Linked DNA regions of Homo sapiens: region 1 is linked to region 2. Evidence: promoter capture Hi-C in human tissues and cell types (Jung and others, 2019). All regions are on one chromosome and are shown on one strand. The core of a region is centred on a gene start or on the middle of the fragment in contact, and the rest is flanking DNA. Distances in the headings are between cores, read along the strand shown.

The links. The method cuts DNA at HindIII sites, captures the fragments that hold promoters and counts their contacts. A contact is called where the count stands out against the background at its distance.
Region 1: a contact is called between a fragment that was not itself captured here and the fragment with the promoter of OSBPL2 in region 2, in 2 of the 25 tissues and cell types used here (lymphoblastoid cells and stomach).

What each region holds. Positions count from the first base shown.
Region 1 is chr20:62,095,139-62,102,128 of GRCh38, reverse strand. It overlaps LOC105372706 (a long non-coding RNA gene), which reads left to right. Exons shown (of 3, transcript XR_936963.2): 3 at 1-986. Among named protein-coding and RNA genes, the nearest start is that of LSM14B, 24 kb to the left of the region's middle. The HindIII fragment of the contact is 5,244 bases long and covers 20-5,263 here.
Region 2 is chr20:62,235,997-62,242,924 of GRCh38, reverse strand. OSBPL2 (oxysterol binding protein like 2) reads right to left here and starts at 4,404. Exons shown (of 14, transcript NM_144498.4): 1 at 4,328-4,404. LOC105369209 (a long non-coding RNA gene) reads right to left here. Exons shown (of 4, transcript NR_160555.1): 4 at 6,624-6,928. RefSeq lists an enhancer at 2,655-3,579 and a silencer at 4,277-4,676. The HindIII fragment of the contact is 10,947 bases long and covers 1-6,928 here.

The DNA.
Region 1 (6,990 bases), core at 1,392-3,891, 140 kb after region 2:
CTCTGGGGCATCCCCTCCCTAGACTCACGGGAGGACCACAGAGGACACGGCTGACCCTGCTTATCTGTGGGCATCTCCTCTCTGGCTCAGCTGGAAGACAGACAGCTGGGCAGTACCAACTGGGCAGACCAGGGAGAGGCAGAGCCCAGGCACACAGGGTGGGGAATCCCCAGGACCCCAGAGGGACTCCATCCAGAAGGCCAGGCAGCTCTGAAGGTGGAGCATGGGGTGGACTGGGAGCTCAGACCCACCCCTAGGAGACTGCTTTTCCTACAGATGCAGGCAGAAGACAGGGGTCCAGGTGCTGCTCTCAGGAGTCAGGGCTGGGAGGTTCTGGGCTGGGGCCAGGGGTAGGCACAGCCTGTGAGAGAGCAAGGCACTGAGGAGGGCCAGGAGATCAGGTCACAGCCACATCCTGAAAGGTGGCCTGAGCCCTTTACTCTGCTCCCTCCCCGAGTGCCAACAGCCTGATGTGTCTCCCGGGTGGGAGGTGGGGGCTCTGTGGAATTGCGCTGGCCTCTTAAGAACCCTGACCACATATTCAGACCTTGCTGCTTCCCCCTCTGAGGTCCACCCTGGAGCAGCCCCTCATCCCCCTACACCCACACTGCTCCACCTCAGCACTTTTGAGCCTCTCATGAAGACACGTGGACCCCAAGGGTCACTGGACTTTGAAGAAGAAAAAGACCCCACACGAAAGACAGATCCCACATCCCCATGCACCAAAGAAGGGAGCTTGGGGGAAAGAGTAGCAACCTGAGGAACAAAAAATATAAAAAAGAAAAAACCTTATTGCTGATACCCTTGGAGAGAGAAGAGAAAACAGCACATCCATGACCTAAGAACAGGATGTAATAAAAAAGGAACAGTGAGAAATTAAGAAAGAGCTCTTGGAAATGAAAAAAAAAAAGCACAAATGAAAACTTCCATAAAAGATAAATTTCTCAGGCGGGGCGTGGTGGCTCACATGTGTAATCTCAGCACTTTGGGAGACCAAGGCAGGTGGACCATCTGAGGTCAGGAGTCCGAGACCAGCCTGGCCAACATGGTGAAACGCTGTCTCTACTAAAAACACAAATATTAGCTGGGCATGGTGGTGGGCACCTGTAATCCCAGCTCTTCAGGAGGCTGAGTCAGGAGAATCACTTGAACCCAGGAGGTGGAGATTGTGCCATGAGCCGAGATTGTGCCACTGTACTCCAGCCTGGGTGACAGAGAGAGACTCCGTCTCAAAAAAAAAAAAGATAATTTTTTCATAAAGTAGAGAAAATGAAATGAAAAATAGGGAAGAAAACATTAATAAGAGCTCCAGAAAGAGAAAACAGAATGGAGAGCATCGCCAAGCAAGTGATTTATGAGGAAACATCCTAAAATGTGGACGTGAGGCTCCAGGTTGAATGAGTGAAGGAAGGCCGGCATGGCATCATGAAATTTCTGAACACAGGACATGAAGCCAACTCTTGGCAGAGCAGGTCCCAGTCCCACGAAAGAGCTGGTGATCTGACTGGCACTGCCTCTCAGGTGGCTGCAGGTGGACAATGTCGGCAGCGGGCAAAACCTTCACAGCCCCGTGGGAAGCTACTCTGCATCCTCGTCCCCCGGGGGACCCTAAGACTGAGGAGGCCTCCAGGCACCTTTCTCAGTGAACTCCTAGAGAATGTGCAGGGAGTGAGCGGGGAGGGCAGTCGGGGGACCCAGGTTCCGCTCAGGACAAACCCCAACAGAGGTGTGGGAGCTCGTTGCCCATGGACAGCAGTGTGAAGAGCAGCCGCCTGGGGAGTCAGGGCCAGGCTGCCCATGAGAGCCCCTGGGAGGATGGGGCTGATGGCTTTCTTGCTCCCCACGTGGAAAGGTGGCCCAGGACACGCTTTCTAGAGTCCCTGGGGAGGTTTGGGATGGGAACAGGCAGACACAGGATAAACTGACCGCAAGAACGACTTACACCCAAAGCCTGGAGGAGTGCGCTGCTCAGGCCTGCGTGGGCCCAGGGGACCACCCTCTGCCGGGCGGGTGAGCAGAGGAAGTGCAGGGAAGCAGCAGCAGGACAGCAGGGCCGTGGGGCTGGGAATCCAGAGCAGGCAGGGCCACGTTCTTCTCTTCGTGGCCTCATCTGTGGCCTCAGATCGTTTTGATGCAGATGCAAAGGATGCCTTAGGAGAGTCAGCTCTGTCGCCATCAGGATTTCCGTCTGTATCAGAGGCAAGGGTGTACCCATGGGAAGCAGAGGTGGGTCCAGGGGTGCACGGAGGAGGGTGGGCTGCTCAGACAGCAAGCAGGTGGTGAGGACAAACCTGAGAGAAGCCGTCTCAGCCAATAGCAGTGGCCACTCAGATCATCCAGTCATTGGTTCATTCATTGATCTGTTGATGGACTGATCCCCCCATCACTGATGTACTGATCCCACAGACACTCATTGAGTGTGGGTCAACATACAATCCCCACGCTGGTGAGCATCGGGGCTGGGGTGGGGCTGGGCACTCTATGGTAAGGGCTCCTTCCTTGGTCTGGGACTGAGGCCTCCTACCTGCTGCACCCTGGATGTACCTCGAGGCTTCCAGGCCAACTCTAGGTGTGTGGTTTAATGGGCCTGGGTGTGGCTGAGTATGGGGTTTTATCCAAGCTTGCCAGGCATTCTAATAAGTAGCCGGGGGTATGAGCTGCGGGTCTAGGGAGAGCGGGGGAAGCTTCAGTGAGAATCTAGGAGGAAGGAGTGGGCAGAGAGGTGGGCTGCAGAGTCCCCTGAAGGCTGGTGTGGGGAGGCAGCTGTGAGGGTCTGAAAGGGGGTGTGGAGGGACAGGCCGGGGAGAGCCAGGAGGAGCCCCCACGGAAGGGCTGGGTTGAGGGAGGGCATGGGAGAGCAGAGCTGGGAGGTTACAGGAGAGCCTGGAGAGGACAGAGGGGACGGCCTCGGCATGGCAGCTGCACCCACAGAGCAGGCAGTACCACATGGCACCTATCGAGTGCTGCCAGATGCCCAGTGACTGAAGCAGGGCTAGTGGGGCGATCTGTAGGCAGGATGTCCATGGGGTCCTGGGTCTTGAAGTGAAGAACATGCTTCTAGACTGTTCTTCACTGCCCTGTTCAGCTTTCCCCTGTCCAAGACGCCGGCTCCCAACAGGTCGGGGGGTGACCTGGAATGGCGTGGAAATCCTCACCAGCTGGAAGATGGTGGAGTTGGGTCCAACCCAGCAGCCACCCCCTCCACCATGAAGTGGCAGGAGGTGAGTTCTGGGGAAAGCTGGTTGGTTCTAAGCAGCACCCTGTCTGTGGCAGGACAAACCCACCTGACCCAGTTCTGTGCTATTTTTTTCTTTTTTCTTCTTTTTTTTTTTTTGAGATGGAGCCTCCACTGTCACCTGGGCTGGAGTGCAGTGGTACAATCTCGGCTCACTGCAACCTCCGCCTCCCAGGTTCAAGCGGTTCTCCTGCCTCAGCCTCCTGAGTCACTGGGATTACAGGCGCCCACCACCGTGCCCAGCTAATTTTTTCTATTTTTAGTAGAGATGGGGTTTCACCATGTTGACCAGGCTGGTCTTGAACTCCTGACCTCGTGATTCACCCGCCTCGGCCTCCCAAAGTGCTGGGATTATAGGCGTGAGCCACCGCGCCCGGCCTGTTCCATTTTTAAACTCCCAGCTTGCGGGACTCCTTCACCATCACCTTTTGATCTCCCTGGAAGACAAGGGTTTTTTTGGTTTCTTTTTTCTTTTTCTTTTTTTCAAGAAGGAAATGTTCTAAAACAAAAGATTTGTCTAGGCCTACATCTCCTTTTCCACAAGATTCACCTGGGAGGAGGTGCAGGCCGGGCGCCGCTGCAGCATCTTTTCCTGCCGTTCACTCTGGTGCGGGAAGGGACGCTGGGGAGCCTGTGACTGAGGGAACAGTGGACCCCAGGCAGGCCCCTCCCCAACGGCACGCTGCAGGTCCAGCTTTGCTGGAGCCCTACGCTCGTCCTGGCTGCAGGGTCTGTCCTGAGCAGCCCGTGAGGCCGTCGGGGCCCTACCTGGCTCCTCTCCTGCTTCCTCCTGGCCAGTGTCCAAAGAGCCCCAGCCCCAGGCCCAGGTCCCCACCCTGGGCTCCCACGGATCTGGGCTCCAGCACATTGAACCCTGGGCTTTTCGGATGACTGTGTTCACTCTGTGTTTCAGAAATCCATTCTGACACCAGAAAAGCCATGGGCTGCCCTTCCCATCTTCCATTTCCCTGCAGTGGGGCCTGTCTGCCTGTGTGTAAAACGCTTCCTGGAATGTGCCCTCCGCCCGACTGTCCGCGGTGCCCCCACCCTGCCTCTGGCAACACCCATCCCCCTGCATGGGGGCACAGAATTCTCTCTCCCCACACCCTCTCCCACCTGCACCTGCCCCTTCAGAGCCATGCCCCCCCAAAAGCATGCAGATGCCTGCCTCATGCCCACCCTCTTCCTGGGAACCCTCATGCCCATGTCCGCAATCGCCTCCCACCCCCTACTCCACTACGTTTGCCCTGAGTGTGGTGCCTGCGTGGCCTTCCCGGAGCAGCCTCTTGACAACTGTTCTGCTGGGGCTCAAATTACCCATCACTGGACAGTGGGTGCAGTGAGCAGGGGGAGTCCCCAGTGTGAGGACAGGCGGGAACTGAAGTCATGTCGTGGGACGTGGTCATGGACAGGATGGTCTCCCACCCCTGGTGGGAGGACCCAAGGGTCTGGTCCCGTGAGGCCCCCAGGGCATTTTGTCCTTGGCTGTGCCCGTGGTGGCATCAACACGACTTCCCCAGCCTAGGGGCCTTCCTTCCTCTTTGAGACCGCCGCCACCCCCCACCCTGCTCTCTGATCCGACCAGGCAGGCCCTCCATTCCCCCGGTCCTTGCCATGCCCCATGAGGGACGCAGAGGTGGGACACTGTCCCTACTGCATGGATGAGAAACCCAAGCCCCAGGGCCCGCCTCGGGCCACACAGCCGGCGGGGACAGAAGAGGCGCCCAGTGCCATTCTGGGTGACAGGTAACCGCAGGGCCCAGCCCTTCCTGGATCCACTTCTCGGCTCCTGGCCTGGGCAGTGCAGATCCCCCTGCAGAGTGCATCCCTCCCCACGCCTGACAGTGTCTGTGCCCATGACACCTCAGGGAAGCCCTCCCTGGCTCCTGTCCTCCCCCTCTCAGCCCTGCTGGCTCCTCCTGCCGGCACAACTGTGCTTGTCTCCTGTCTCCCTGCATGGTGGGAATGTGTCCCTGGCGCCTGGAACGTGCCCGGCCCATCGTGGCACCTAGGAGGTGTCTGCAGAGCCAGTCAAGGTTGCAGAGGGGGAGCTGCTAGGAGCTCCTGGCCCCTCCTCTTTCCCCCGAAATGTCTGCCAGCAGATCTGAGAGGGCCTCAGATGGCGAAGAATGAGGGGACCTTAGGAAACCCCTGTGGTCCCTGCCGCAGGCCCCCAGGGGAGGGCTGGTGAGTGTGGTGGGGAGGGGGTGTAGCAGAGGAGGCAGGACTGGGGTCCCAGAGGGAGAGGTCGAGGTGGGGCGGTGGGCCAGGGCATGTGTGAGCATGAGCGTGCTCATGTGTGTGTATGCAAGGGTGTGCAGCGTGTGCACCACGCGTGAGAGTGCAGACATGTGCATGTGTCCGGCGAGGTCTCGGATTACCTGTTCTATGTTTCAACTTGGTGCTTTGGTCCTTTCTCCTGCAACTCAAGTCCAGGATAGAGGCCCAGTACCAGGCTCCTAATGAGCAGATTCTGGCCCTCATCCATTCCAGAGCAAGGCTTTCTGTCTGGTTTTGGGTTTTTGTCTTTTTTGAGACAACATCTTGCTCTGTCCCCCAGGCTGCAATGCAGTGGCATGGTCACAGCTCACTGCAGCCTCCACCTCCTGGGCTCAAGCAATCCTTCTGCCTCAGCCTCCCGAGTAGCTGAGACAACAGGCATACACCACCATGTTTGGCTAATTTTTAATTTTTTGGTGGAGACTGTGTCTCGCTATGTTGCCTAGGCTAGTCTTGAACTCCTGACCTACAGCGATCCTCCCACTTCATCCTACTGAGTAGCTGGGACTACAGGTGTGTACCATCATGCCTGGCTAATTTTTTTTTTAATTGTGTAAAGACAGGGGTCTCACTATGTTGCCCAGGCAGGTCTTAAACTCATGGTCTCAAGTGATTCCTTCCTCAGCCTCTCAAAGTGCTGGGATTACAGGCATGAGCCACTGCTTCTGACCTCCCTCTGCTGTGTTATTTTATTTTATTTTATTTTGTTCTGTTCTATTCTATTCTATTCTATTCTATTCTATTCTATTCTATTCTATTCTATTCGAGACGGAGTTTCGCTCTGTCGCCCAGGCTGGAGTGCAATGGCATGATCTTGGCTCACTGCAACCTCTGCCTTTCAGGTTTAAGTGATTCTCCTGCCTCAGCCTCCCAAGTAGTGGGATTACAGGCACTCACCACCATGCCTGGCCAATTTTTAGTAGAAACAGTGTTTCACCATGTTGGCCAGTCTGGTTTCGAACTCCTGACCTCAGGTGATCTGTCCGCTTCGGCCTCCCAAAGTGCTGGGATTACAGGCGTGAGTCACCGCTTCTGGCTTTCCTGTTTTTTAAGCTGAAAAAAAAAAAATGTGCCTGGCTTATCGAGGCAGGACATTCATTTTGCAAACTGTTTCTGAACCCCACACCCCATTTTATAAAATATGAACATTACAATGCAGATTGACATGAATTTGGGAAAGGTTTTAATGTATGAGATTACATTCATGAGCCTCTTCATTAATTCTAGCCTCGTACAGCACGTTACTCACTTTTGCTTCTCATGCGAAGAGCAAATGATGTGTTTCAATTATCCCTCATTTTGGGAAACCTGAGGGAAAAGATTTGAGAGCACGAGCACCTTTTGTTGTAGAGCAGGAGGTCTCAATCTCGGGGGCTGTGAGAATCATCTGAATGACCTTTGCAGAATATGCAGGCGGCTGGGTCCCACTGACACCTGCTGGCAGAGCTCCTGAGAGAGGCTGGGCACACCTGTGT
Region 2 (6,928 bases), core at 3,155-5,654:
GTCTTTTCTGGAACCAAAACTCCACACAACTCCCTACACACTACAGTCCTCCCTGCCTGGTGCTCCTCCAAGAACTCCCCGTATGAGCCCACAACAGGCGCTCTCTGGGCACCCCTGAAGGTTGCAGTCCCAGCGCCTTTGATAAAGAAATGTGCTCAGTGTCTGCTCAGCCAAGAGCCCCTCAGACCCTTCCCACCCCTGACTTGCCTCAGCGTCGGGGCCACAGCCCCCAGGCCCTCAGTGCGCAGGTGAGAAGTACACACCTTACACCCAGGAGAGAGGCCTGATGACCGCCACAAGCCCTGAGGGTGCGGGAACCTCTTCAGGCCCCAAACTATGGAGCCAGCCACTAGCTCAACAGGACTGATCCCAGAGTTTGTTTCTCAAAATACATCAAGCGAGTGTTCCACTGAAAACAGAAGGCAAGCAAAGAGAAACAGCCACAAACATCAGGCACGAGTCTCAGATCCAGTCCCTTATAAAAGCTCACTTCCACCACTCAGCTCAACTCAGAGGTCACAGGATTTGCATCAGCAGAAGCTCCAGCGGAAAGAATGTGGATGCTGTGACATTCTGCTGAATGATCCCAAGTTCTTTTCTGAATCTGGAAGGAAAAGGAAAGAAGTGCCAAAAAGTTCACGCAAACAGTGCTGTGAGCTATTTAACAGATGCTTTTATTATCAAGAGCTGCAGAGGTGGGCCGGGACACCACCACGCTTCCACAGTGGGACCCTAGCCCAAACCAGCAGCCTGAGAGGCCGGGACACCATGCCTGAAACTCACTAGCAAGAACACTCTGAAAAAGCAAAAATGACAGCAGATTTACAAATCAACTAGCATATGTGGAAAGTGCATTTAAACTATCAAACCAGAACCCACCATATTAACTCAGGACTTCGGTCCTTTTTAATAATCAGTCATGTTCAAATACTGACTTCCTTTCAGTGTAGATAAGGTTATAAATCAACCTGAAAATGTACTACATATTGGAATTAAACCTCGTACCTGACAATCTGTGCTAAACACTAAACGAAATGTCAACACCCAAACAGGAAGTATGACAATGACTAGGAGAAAATCAGCCCACACCCAAAGATCCCGGGACACCTGAGGGTGTGACTGCTGCACTGCTGAGAGGCTCCAGCTTCAGCAGGTGTTGGAGCCAAGGGCGGCCCAGGCACCCACAACGTATCAGACACTTGATGTTATATTTTCACAGATTCCACATAGTAATCCGTCTTACAGGCAAAGACACTGAAGGCAGGAGCCAGTGGGAACCCACCCAGGACCCAAGAGCCCTGGTCTGGCGCACCACCTTCGCAAAGATGCTGTGACTCAGGAAGGCACGGCGCCAGCTGTGCCTGCACGGCCAGACAAGACATGGCTTGCATGGGGACATTAAAGAAATCACCTTGAGGAGATGGCAGCTTCCCTGCTTGAAGACAGCATAAGAACCTAAAATGTGTCAACAATTCCCTTATACAAAATGTCACTTTTGTAATTGGCTGAATGTACTAAAACTTTAAAAGTCGAGCAAGCTTTAATGACAAATCCAAGACCCAAAATTAGCCAGGTGTGGTGGCGGGCGCCTGTAGTCCCAGCTACTTGGGAGGCTGAGGCAGGAGAATGGTGTGAACCCGGGAGGCAGAGCTTGCAGTGAGCTGAGTTCGCGTTTGCAGTGAGCCGAGTTCGCGCCACTGCACTCCAGCCTGGGCGACAGAGCGAGACTCCATCTCAAAAAAAAAAAAATTCCAAGACCCATCTGCTGGCATCTCCTGGACGGCACAGAGGAGAGACACTGGGATGAAAGTCAAGTGGCATTTTTTTCACATTCAAACAGCACCTCTCATTAACATGTGGAACACAGCAGAGTCTGACCCTCTCAACGCACTCGAGGCGTGGAAGAAAAATGTCCTACGTGTGTACTCTAAGGCAGTGTGTGAAGTCCCCTGGAACTGAACTCAGAACGGAGACCTCAGAGTCTGGACTGTACGCCTGTCAGCACCCATGCCCCTCAGTCCTCCCTCTTCACACAGAGACCACCACTGAATCTGCCAGTAACAAAGGAGCTGGGTGGCAGGGAAGGTATTCTGGCAAAATCCTGAATGGTCAAACGGTAAATTACTTTATTTCAGAAAAAATGAAATGGCTTTGTAAACACTCAGGCTCACAAAAAAGAAAGTCTATTAGTTCTATATGTAGCAAAATCCCGAAATTCTGACACAGAGTAATGCAGCATGATTAGAATATTCTAAACGAAAATGTTAAATGAAAATCTTGATATTAAAAGGCAGTACAGGGTAGTGTTTAAGAGTGTGAACCCTGGAGCCTGGGTTCAAATCCATATTTCATAATTTACTGCTGTGTGGTTTAGGTAAGTTACTTAACCTCTCTGTTCCTTAGCTTCCTCATGAATGAACTAAGGATAATGTCAGTACCTGCCCAGTGGACTGTTGTGAAGATCACACAAAGAAAGTGAATACGACATGCTCGTAACAGTCCTGGAACAATCATTATTAAATATTATCGTCTGCTGGGGTAAGAGCTGTCATTAATAGATGGACACATGAAGAAAACAGGGTAAATTCTATGAGGGAGACTCAGTCACTCACTCACTCATTGCCACATTCTAAAAGACGACACTGTGGCAGGCACTGGGCTGGGCAGGGAGGAAGTGCCACCGACAAAGTTCCTGTCCTCAACAAGGGGAAGGTAACTGGCATTCCGGGGTGCGCACTAGGTGTCAGAGACTGTGGTAGAAAATGATTTCATGGCAGGGCGCGGTGGCTCGCACCTGGAATCCTAGCACTTTGGGAGGCTGAGGCAGGCGGATCCCTTGAGGTTAGGAGTTCGAGACCAGCCTGGCCAACATGGTAAAACCCCATCTCTACTAAAAATAAAAAAATTAGGCGGGCGTGGTGGCCGGCGCCTGTGGTCCCAGCTAGATGGGAGGCTAAGGCAGGAGAATGGCTTGAAGCCGGGAGACGGAGGTGGCAGTGAGTCAAGATCGCACCACTGCACTCCAGCCTGGGCAACAAAGCGAGACTCCATCTCAAAACATAAAACAAGAAAATGATCTCGTTTGCTTCTCTTATCAGCAAAGTGCTACATGTCCGGATGAAGGAGTTGAGGCTGACAGCCAGAAAAGAGGCCATGGGCACGAGTTAGGAAGGGCAGCAGGGACGGCCGTGGCTTCCCAGCATGTGGCCCCTGCACCAGTTCCGGGCTCCTCAACTCTCCGCTGTCCTCACCACACATCCAGCTGGTGGGAAGGCCGCACAGCACCCAGCCAGGCCCACAGCAGGCATTCGAGAAACGTCTATCCAACCAAACCGAATGGGACCCCTTCTCCAGGTGTTCCGGGCAGTCATCCCAAAGCTGCCGGAGCCAGGCTAGGCCAGGGCCTGTCCTAGAGGACGGTTCAGATAGAAACGCCCCTGGGAGGTGACCCTCACCCCAGGAGAGCCTGCAACACCCCGACACCCACTGCCTCGTCGCCGGTCCTCCCATGAAGCGGGGAGGCTGAGGTGCTGTGACGACCTAACAGTCTTGGTCTGGGCTTATAAACTTGGAAAGTCTAAAGACGTATTCTTCTGAGTACCAAAATATAACTGGCGAAAGAAGGAACCTCTTAAAATTACATTACCAAAGATAGGTTTTAGGTAGCAAGTTCTCAACCGTGTGTAGTCTGCTAAGATTTATAAATTAAAAACAAAAACAGAGCCCAGGGGAACGGACAAGGGCTCGCGGGCACCCTCCCCGGGACGACGTGCACACAGGCCTGCGGGACAAGAAGGCCAGGGTCGGAGTGGGACTGCGTCTCCCTGCCCTTCTTCCCGGCGGAACTCGCCCTCCTCACCTACAGGATCGCCCTAAATGCGCACGAAATCCTTCCCTGTTCCCGGTGAGGTGGTGAGAGAGGGCGAGGCCGCGAGCAGGTGCGCCCGTCCCCACTTCCTGCTCAGCGGGGCAGCAGGGGGGCTGGGGATCTCGGGGGGGCCGGGCCGGGGGTCCCGGGATCGCAGTTGCCGGGCGACCGCAGGGGGAAGGGTGCGGGGGCCGCGGGACCCAGGCCCAGGCCCCACGCCCGGCCGGAACTTTCCTCCCAAAGTTTCCCCGGGGCGCCAGGCTGCGGCCTAGGCCGGGCGCGCCTCCCAGTGGGGGTCGAGGCCGGGGCCGGGGCCGGGGCTGGAGGCGGCCTGCGGACCCGGGTCCTGCCCGGCCCGCCCTCCCCTCCCCGCCCCGGCTCCAGCCCCAGCCCGCGGCCCAGGCCCCGCAGCTCGCCGGGGTCCCGGGCCTTCGCGTGGCGGCGGCGGGGGCCACTCACCTGGACGCGGGTCCCTCGGTTGCCGGCCGAGCTCACTGCCGCCCCGCCCCCGCCCCGTAGGCCCGCGACCCACTGACACCGAGGCGGAAGTGCGGCCCGCCGCCTCGCCGACTGACAGCCCGCGCCCGCCACTCGCTGCGCCCGGCGCCGCCGCGTCGGCCGCTGCCTGCCCAATCAGCGCCCGGCCCGAGGCTCGCGCCGGGGGGTGGGACTATGCTAATCCCTTCGCGAAGGGCCTCTACCTGTGCCCCCTCAGAGCCCCGCCCACGCAGCGGAGTGACGGCAAGGACAGCCAGTCACAGCAGGAGAGAGGCGGGGTTATGCCGCCCCTGAGCCAAAAGGGGAGGGAGGCAAGGAGGAAAGGGCGTGGCTGCAGAGAGCAGAGTTGACAAACAGTGAGTCAGGTGGCCCGGGGCGTGGGTGCTCCGCCCTCAGGTGCACTGCGTCCTGGCGGCAGTGCGGGCCTGCGAGGCTACCCAAAGCCCTGGGGGCTTTTTCCTACAAATGCTGGGGACCGTGCGATAGCTGGGGCGTAGCTGCTTCCACTGTCCTACCAAATCCTGAATATCGTCCACCTCCTTTGCATGCCATTCACCGCCAACCAAAATCCAGCGCCAATTTACCCCTCCAGCTGCATCCCCGACCGTTTCACCACCATACTTAAAACCCTTTGGACTCCCACTGACCTACAGTGGCTCCAGGGTTAAGCCCAGAAGTTCTGGAATCAGACCTGGAGCTTGCATTCTTTACCAGCTGTGTGGATTTGGACAAATTAATTAACCTCTCTGAGTCTGTGATCACTCAGTTTCATCTGCAAACCAGGGTTCCCCTGTCAACATCTCATTGAAGTCATGGGTCTGGTTTGAGGTGAGTGGAGTGGCATAAACCAGGCTGGCTACATAGTCACAGCAGTTGGTTTAGGGGTCAGCCTGTGACCCAGTTCTAGCCAAAGAGGCTCAGTCCTGGGACTTTTGCTGTAGGGTCAGAGTTCAGACCGGAGGGGAGGCTGAAGTCAAATGACTCTCCCATCTGCCCACAGACCTCTCCAGAGCTGGGTTAGGTGAGAGAGGGAAGGGGCCAGTCTTCCACATCTCACTACCCGAGAACAGGGCTGCACGAGAATGAAGCCAGCCCAGAGGAAAGCCGGAGCAACCACGGCCGGGTCACGTGGACCCTGCTGCACCTCAGCAGGTCCTTTCCTTGACTTTTCAGTTACGTGAACCACATGCTTGTTTCTGCTTCAGCCCATTTGAGGTAAAGCCAAGAGTCCTGGGCTTCCTGTGGCCTTGAGAGCTCTGGCAGATGACCCGTGACCCCGCAGTGCGTCCTGCAGCAAAGCCAGCCCCCGTTGGGCCTCTGCACCCCCTCCTCAGGCCTTGTCTCCCCACTTCCAGGCTGCCCCTAGCAGGGCCATGGAGGCAGGGACAGGCCTTTGCCCCATCTGTGGCCCCGTGGCAGACGTGGGTACTCTCTATAAATTTCAGGGCATGAGTGAGCCAATGAACGTGGCCTCTGTGGCAGGGGTGGGGCCCAGGCCACATCTCTGGGCCCAGCAGGGCCGTTCTCCCCCACCCCAGGGGCTGGCCCCACTCACTGGTGGGCCACTGTCAGTCGGCGCCACTAGAGACGTGCCGGGACCAGGAAGGAGCTGGCTGAGCCTCTCCTGAAGAGAGAACGGGGAGGAGGGCGGGCAGGCCTCAGAAACAAAGGGGTTGCCATGGTTACCTCTGAAGAAAGCGACTCCAGCCGGTGAAAGGGAAGGGAAGGCGTGCGGCCCCCAAGCCAGGACAAGGACGATGAGGCCAGTTGCCACGGAGATGACTGCGCTCCACAGCTTTCCCTGTGGGCCTTGCCAGGGCCAGCTCAGGGTCCCAGAAACCCATCACTCTCCATGTCCCTCACCCTAAGTCTCTAAGACTCTAACCCCTGTGCCCTTGAGGGGATCCAACCTGCCCACCCACCCCTTGACCACGAGCTCTGCAGTGAGGGCAGCCTCAGAGGCTCAGGCAGAAGGACCCTCTCATCTGCCCAGGGACCACCCCAGGGCCAAGCAGGGAGATCCACCCTGGCCTTGGGGTTGGGGGTGTGATCTCAGATGGCCCCTGGGCTGGAGCAGGGGTTTCACCCCTCTCCACAAATGCAGTAACTGAGCTTCAAGGGTAGTCTGCCGTCAGCCAGCACTGCTGGAGACGTGCCAGGACTGGGAAGGGTACTTCCTCCCCGGGGCCAGTTGCTGGGACTAGGCGAGAATCCTCCCTCAGTTGGTGGGTAGTAAGGAGGGTGCCTTGAGACCAACTTAGGCGTCTTTGTTATGATCTTTACTAGGTCACGAGGCCAATTCAAGAGGCACAGTTCTCCAAGGATGGAAGATGGGGGTGGAGAAGGCAACAAAGATGGATGAGCTGGGGCCATGATGATGAGGATGATGATGTTGATGATGATGATGGTGATGGCGGCCGAGTGCCCTGTGATTTACAGGCCCATCTGGTTTCATGTTTGCAACAGCCAATCAAGTGGGTACCAGGTGCCATCATTCCCACTTTACAGATGAGAAGACTGAGCCCCAGACAGGTTAAGTGACTCCCCCAGCCCTGCAATGAG